Linked DNA regions of Homo sapiens: region 1 is linked to region 2. Evidence: promoter capture Hi-C in 16 types of primary human blood cells and fetal thymus (Javierre and others, 2016). All regions are on one chromosome and are shown on one strand. Each heading gives the region's core, a stretch centred on a gene start or on the middle of the fragment in contact. The rest is flanking DNA. Distances are from core to core; before and after follow the strand shown. Region 1 overlaps HNRNPM (heterogeneous nuclear ribonucleoprotein M). Region 2 holds the start of NDUFA7 (NADH:ubiquinone oxidoreductase subunit A7).

Region 1 (3,223 bases), core at 693-3,192, 130 kb before region 2:
GAATAAAATCAAAGAGCTGAGTGAAAGCAAAGGCCTGGCAGCATGCATTCAAATAATCCAAAACCCTGTCTTCTAATCTTGAGCTCACAATCTGACGTGTCTCCAAAATCCTTTTTGAATAAACAATCACTCTTTAAAGTACAGCAAACACTCAAATGCATTGTATAGAGAATCTGATTTAAATAAAACAATTCAAACGGCTGTTTACTGAGTGGTTACCAAGGTAGTATCATGAAAGCAGCAAGCTGCCTGGGAGTCAGGAGGGCCTCCCCTGGAGTCTTTAGGTCAGGTTCCTGAACCTGGGTTTAAGTGTTTAAAACGAAAGTTTTCTTGATTGTCAAATGGAGTCAACTCTAACAGTACCTCCTCAGGAATCTACCCTAAATATATATTTTTATTTTTATAAATAACCAATCCATCTGTTTCTTATTCACCCACAAAATTACTCAGGAAGGGGCCAGGTGTGGTAGCTCACGCCTATAATCCCAGCACTTTGGGAGGCCAAGACGGGCGGATAACGACGTCAGGAGATCGAGACCATCCTGGCTAACAGAGTGAAACCCCATCTCTACTAAAAAAAAATATTAAAAAAATTAGCCAGGCATGGTGGCGGGCGCCTGTAGTCCCAGCTACTCGTGAGGCTGAGGCAGGAGAATGGCGTGAACCCGGGAAGCGGTTCACGGAGCTTGCAGTGAGCTGAGATCGCGCCACTGCACTCCAGCCTGGGCAACAGAGCGAGACTCCATCTCAAAAAAAAAAAAAAATTACTCAGGAAGGGGAGCAGGTTAAGTCATTTATTTTATATATGATACTACATTTAAAAAAATTTTAAAAACCTATACATTCCCCTAAAATGAACTTTTTTTTCCCTGACTATACCCTAACTCTGAATCTTTGCTGACTTTAATTGGAACAGACTTCTCATCAAAATTAAGCAAATCCTATTCTCACACCCAGGAGAGAAGTAACTGCAAAACAAGATTTCCAACCTGGGTTCCCAGATCAAGCTTGCTAGCTCACTGCATTTGTGGTCTACTGCACACTCCACTCCTGGTAGAGAAAGAATTCCAAAGAACCAAGTTTCTATTTTTCTCCTGTCTCTCAAAGGCTTTCAAGATAAAAATCCAAATTCACTGCCCATCAGCTGGCTGCCAGTGCTCCAACCTTAAAACTCTATAGCAACTTCAGTGTTCTTGTTTGTTTGTTTGTTTGAAGAAGGAGTATCGCTCTGTCGCCCAGGCTGGAGTGCAGTGGCCCAATCTCGGCTCACTGCAAGCTCTGCCTCCCAGGTTCACGCCATTCTCCTGCCTCAGCCTCCCCAGTGGCTGAGACTACAGGAGCCCGGCACCACGCCCGGCTAATTTTTTGTATTTTTAGTAGAGACGGGGTTTCACCGTGTTAGCCAGGATGGTCTCTATCTCCTGACCTCGTGATCTGCCCGCCTCGGCCTCCCAAAGTGCTGAGATTACAGGCGTGAGCCGCCGGGCCCAGCCTGTTTTGTTTTTTCTTTTTTTTGGTAGAGACAGGGTTTCACCATGTTGCCCAGGCTGGTCTTGAACTCCTGAGCTCAAATAGTCCTCTCACCTCAGCCTCCCAAAGTGCTGGGATTACAGGTGTGAGCCACTACACCCAGCACAACTTCAGTTCTCGATAAAGCATACACTCAAATCTCTGCTCTTTGGATACTCTCTTCCCTGCCCCTCCCCAACCATCTTCTTCTCCTCCACTTCCACACGTCTTCCTGTCATGGAGGAACAGGTCCCTGCCCCCAGCAGGTGGCGGAGGTCACCTCCTCCATTCTTTCTACCAAGCAACTCCACTAACTTCTATCACAGCATAATTACCTTATGTTATGGTAATTACATAACATACATAACATACAAATATGTTAATGGCCTCTCCACTCTGCATGGAGTGCAAAAGTATAGGCTTCTAAAGAGATTTCCTTAAGACTTGTAATGAAAAAAAAAAAAAAAAGTTTTCCACAGGCCCTATCAAAAATATCCAAGTGTTGCCAGCTTCCTAAACTATCCTCTATGAAGCTAGTACTAGACTTTGAGACTTTGAGCCTCTTTCTCACAACGGCTATTTTATTCTACAATTTTCAGGTTCCAACAGTCCACATGTATTTGTAAAATGACTCAGTCACAAAATGACTATTTGAAAATGGACAGGGGAAAAGGGAAAATTTGTAATCTATTAATTTACCCTATCATCTAGCAAGGTTCTACCAGCACTCCTTCCTGCATACGGTAAATAAATTTATCTTAAAGCCCTCCAAATACCACCCTCAGAAATCCTACCAGCTTCCGTAGATAGACGCTGAAAAAGTCAAAATTAACACATTCCTTCCCAGAGTTTTCAATAGTAAAATGCTGGGAATAGAGGAAGTTTTTCTCATTTCTAAGGGCCAGTAACCATGGTATTTTATTTCTCCCTACTTAAGGAGGGAAAGAATCTGGAATTTTCTCCGGATTTATTATCTACCAATATAGCTAGCACTTAGGGAACGTTCTTAACCTAAGCGCTCAACTAGGCAGGGCGCAGTAGCTCATGCCTGTAACTTCAGCACTTTGGAAGGCCTAGGCAGGAGGATGGCTTGAACCCAGGAGTTTCAGACCAGCCTGGGCAACACCCGGAGACCTCCTCTCTTCAAAAAATTAGCCGGGCATGGTGGTGCCGCGCCTGTGATCCCAGCTACTCAGGAGGCTGAGATGGAAGGATCGATTGAGCCCAGGAGTTCGAGGCTGCAGTGATCTGTGATCGTGCCACTGCATCCCAGCTTGGGTAACAGAGGGAGACCCTGTCTCAAAGAAAAAAATTAAATATATAAGTGCTCAACCGCATTCACTTTTAATCTCCATAAACTAAGCTTCACACATTACAATATGAGGAAGGCAAAGTCACAGACAGAAAGGAAAGAAAACGGAGGGAGTTAGTATTTAATAGCTACACTTTCTGTTTCCGATGATGAAAAAGTTCTGGACATGAAGCAGTGACGGTTACAGCACACTGAGTCAGTATACTCAATGCCACTGAATTATACGCTTAAAAAATGGTTAAAATGGCAAAGTCTACGTTATGTCTATTTTACCACAATGAAATAAATGTCTGGGAAATTCAATGTGTACCCAGGCTTCCCCTTCCTTCCCGGCCGCTGATCTTGGAGCCAAAACCTCTCTGTCTCTCTTAAGTGTCTGTAATCAGAATGAATGAGTTTCAC
Region 2 (3,205 bases), core at 668-3,167:
GTTAGACGAGTTTCCCCAACTACAGGCTAAGGCGTTCTGAACAAGCTTAAGATGGACCATGCTAAGCTGTGATGTTTGGGAGATTAGGTGTATTAAACACATTTCAACTTGCAATACTTTCAACCTATGATGTACTCACCGGAATGTAACCCATTGTAAACTGAGGAACACCTGTACTCACCCCACTGGAAGGGATGTGGGAGGAAGGTCAAGCGCCTCTTCCAGGTCAGAAGGGGCAGAGGTTGGATACAAACCAGGCAGCCTGGGTCCATGGTAAAAGAACCTCCACTAAGTGAGGCTGGGGCTGAATCCCACGTTTCCTGCCTCAAGGAGATTGCAGCAGGCCCCCCTCTTTTCCCCTCTCTCCAGAGCGAGTCACCCCCTGGCTCCCAGACAGCCACACCTGGTGAAGGAGAATGCGGTGACAATGGAGAGAACCCCCAGGTTCAGTAAGCTGCCTCGTCTGGCTCACTACACCTAGCTGTGGGGAGATCTCCTCGTCAGTCACCTCAGCCTTTGGCGCACAGAAGGGTCCAGGGTCCCCTGCTCAGAGGCTAACACTGGCCGAAGAGAAAGGCAATTTCAGTTGGGGTGACTGTGGCAGGAAGGGGCTCACTCTGGCCCCACCAAGGTGAGGTGGGGACCAAGTGATAGAGCCCTGATCCACCCACTCTCTGAAACTTCTTTGCTAATAAAACATTCCTACTACGCTTGTGTTTTGTTTGGGGTAGAGGGTGCAATCGACAAACACGACCCCCCGCCTCAAAAAGGAAAAGCTTCGTTTGGCAAGACCGCACGGCCAGGATTTCCAGAGTGCGGAGGATCGGTGACCGCCTGGGAGCCACTCAAGAAACCTGGAGAAACCCTAGTCGTATAACCCAGACAAGAACCTGAGTTAACTTGAAACACAAACGCTTTATTTAAAGGAGCATCTCAGTTACGTGTGGCGGACAAAAAAAAGGAGCAGACTGTGACAGACCATTCCCATCGGCCAAGTGGTCGAACCCGACATCCAAGACCCTGTAAACAGACCCAAACATGAGATGTTGACAGGCCCCGCAGCAATTGGCAAACTCCCGCCTCCCTCTTGTCAGTCTCTGTATGTAGACTCTGCCTCCCAAACCCTCTCACCCTGGGCTTAACGAAGCCTCCCTACCACCAACCAAAGGTCTATCAAAGGGGTGTCCTCTTTGCACCCACCAGCGAGCAGCCAAGCTCAGCGCAACCTCCGGGCTTCTCGCTCTGACTCCAAAAGGGTGAGCACGTCGCCCTCGCGCACGGGGCCTTTTACATTGCGGATGATGGATCGGCTCGTGTCGTCCATGAATTCCACGCGCACCTACGGGTCCCCACCGGAGTGGAGGAAGAAGTAAGGGCGGGCCGCGGAAAGGCACCGCGGAGTGGGAAGCAGATATGAATTCAGAGAACGTGTCGGGGCCAGAATACAGATCGTTAAAGGGAACCATCAGAACCCCGTGATGAAATGAGAATCGGCTCCCGGATTCCGGCTGGCAGGGGTTAGGGCAGGGTAGAGGTCACATCAGGGTTTAGGTCGCCGGCAGTCGGCCAAATGCCCCCACCCGATTACCTGCGTGCACTGTCCCTGAGAACCGGTCCTGCCCAGGACCTTGGTGACCTGGAGGAAAGAAGCTGGGTTCAGACCCGGCCCGTTTGGCTCCTCTAATCCCTCCCCCTGCCCCCAAATTCGGGCCCCCACCTCACCCTGGCCAGCTTGATAGGCTGCACACGGCTGGTGTCCATGATGGCGGCGCGGCGGCGGTCTGGCGGAGAGGAGTCACGTGCTTCGGGGAGAGCCTTTATAGGACGTTCTAGCACCGCCCACTCCCGTCTCGCGATACCACGCCGCGTCTTTCCCAGCAGCCCCAGCGGTGGAGACGTCACCGGCTGCGCCCTTCAGTATCGCGGACGGAAGATGGCGTCCGCCACCCGTCTCATCCAGCGGCTGCGGAACTGGGCGTCCGGGGTGCGCGGGGCGGACAGGGCTGCACCATGGGGGGCTTCGGGCTCCGTGTGTCCGGGACCCGCTCCTGCTCCTCACCTCCCTCCTAAGCCGGGACCCTTCGCTCTCCCCGAATCTCCCTGGGAACCCCCAGCTAGTCACCCCTTCAGCCCGGGACCCTCTCCTGGCCTGGGAACCACTCAGGCCTGGGATTTCCCCAGTCCCCGACCTTCTTAGCCTTGGATCTGTGGGCCCGGACTCTGGCTTTGCTCTTCACCTGCAGGACCCACATCCGTTTCCCCGAGTGTTCATCCCCTGCCTTCCCTTAAAATGCGCATCCCCGGACCATCCCTGGTCCCTTGCCCTCTCCTTTCCTCTCTCCTGGGGTGCCTTGCAGGCCGACCTCTCCTCTCCTCTTCCCACAGCATGACCTGCAGGGGAAGCTGCAGCTACGCTACCAGGAGATCTCCAAGCGGTGAGCAGGCCCCGCTCGCTGCCCAGCCTCTGGCTCTGTCCTTTCTCCACCAAAAACGAAATCTGTGTTCCTTTAGACCCCTGAAACGGAGGGCTGACATCCTGCCACCAGTCCCCTGCCAGGCTGTGGAGGCAGAGGTTTGCCTTTAACCTTGCTGAACTCCGGAGGACAGCCCTCCTGAAACAGCGAGGCCGGGCGTGCATTCTGACTGGCAATCAGGCTAGATTTGCAGTGCTCAGCGTGGCCATGTTAGTCAGTGTTATCCCCAAGCTACAGATGAAAAAAGAGGTCCAGAGAGGCGAAATCATTTGCCTCAAGTCACTCAGAAGCTAAAAAGTGGCAGCGGGGACTTGAACCCAGAAGTGTCCTGATTTCAGACTCATTTATATTAAAATATTAGTTGATATTTACAAGCCCCCGTCATGTATGACCTCAGCCTTGGGTTTAACTTTGTGAACCAGGAAAGTTCTTATCCACATTCTTTCATGGACGCCACATTCTAGGGAGAAGCATAGTAGGGAAACAAACACAGCAGGTAGTATTGTTCTGGAATGCTTTGAAGACAAAACAAAATAAGTGGAAGCTGGAGGGTGGCTACGTAAAGTCAGATGATTGGGAAAGATCTTTCTTTGGAAATTGACAGTTGAGTCCCCTGAATGATGGGAAGGACCCATTCAAAGAATAATTATTGAAAAAACATTCTGACCGGGCGCGGTGGCTCACGCTTGTGATCCCAGCACTTGGGGAGGCTGAGGCAGGCGGATCACGAG

Evidence for each region. Contacts are between HindIII fragments. The CHiCAGO score rates a contact against its expected background, and 5 or more counts as called.
Region 1: a contact is called between a fragment that was not itself captured here and the fragment with the promoter of NDUFA7 in region 2, in 2 of 17 cell types (erythroblasts and naive CD4 T cells). The highest score is 6.1, in erythroblasts.

What each region holds. Positions count from the first base shown.
Region 1 is chr19:8,446,015-8,449,237 of GRCh38, reverse strand. All of the region lies in intron 1 of HNRNPM (heterogeneous nuclear ribonucleoprotein M), which reads right to left. Among named protein-coding and RNA genes, the nearest start is that of HNRNPM, 2.7 kb to the right of the region's middle. The HindIII fragment of the contact is 1,865 bases long and covers 1,010-2,874 here.
Region 2 is chr19:8,320,087-8,323,291 of GRCh38, reverse strand. It overlaps NDUFA7 (NADH:ubiquinone oxidoreductase subunit A7), which reads left to right and starts at 1,917. Exons shown (of 4, transcript NM_005001.5): 1 at 1,917-1,984; 2 at 2,386-2,435. The coding sequence starts at 1,934. It overlaps RPS28 (ribosomal protein S28), which reads right to left and starts at 1,796. Exons shown (of 4, transcript NM_001031.5): 1 at 1,723-1,796; 2 at 1,589-1,636; 3 at 1,201-1,339; 4 at 1-1,020. The coding sequence starts at 1,761. The coding sequence ends at 1,217. KANK3 (KN motif and ankyrin repeat domains 3) reads left to right here. Exons shown (of 11, transcript NM_198471.3): 11 at 370-708. The coding sequence ends at 453. RefSeq lists enhancers at 1-893, 894-1,861, 1,768-2,007, 1,862-2,829, 2,830-3,205. The HindIII fragment of the contact is 9,773 bases long and covers 779-3,205 here.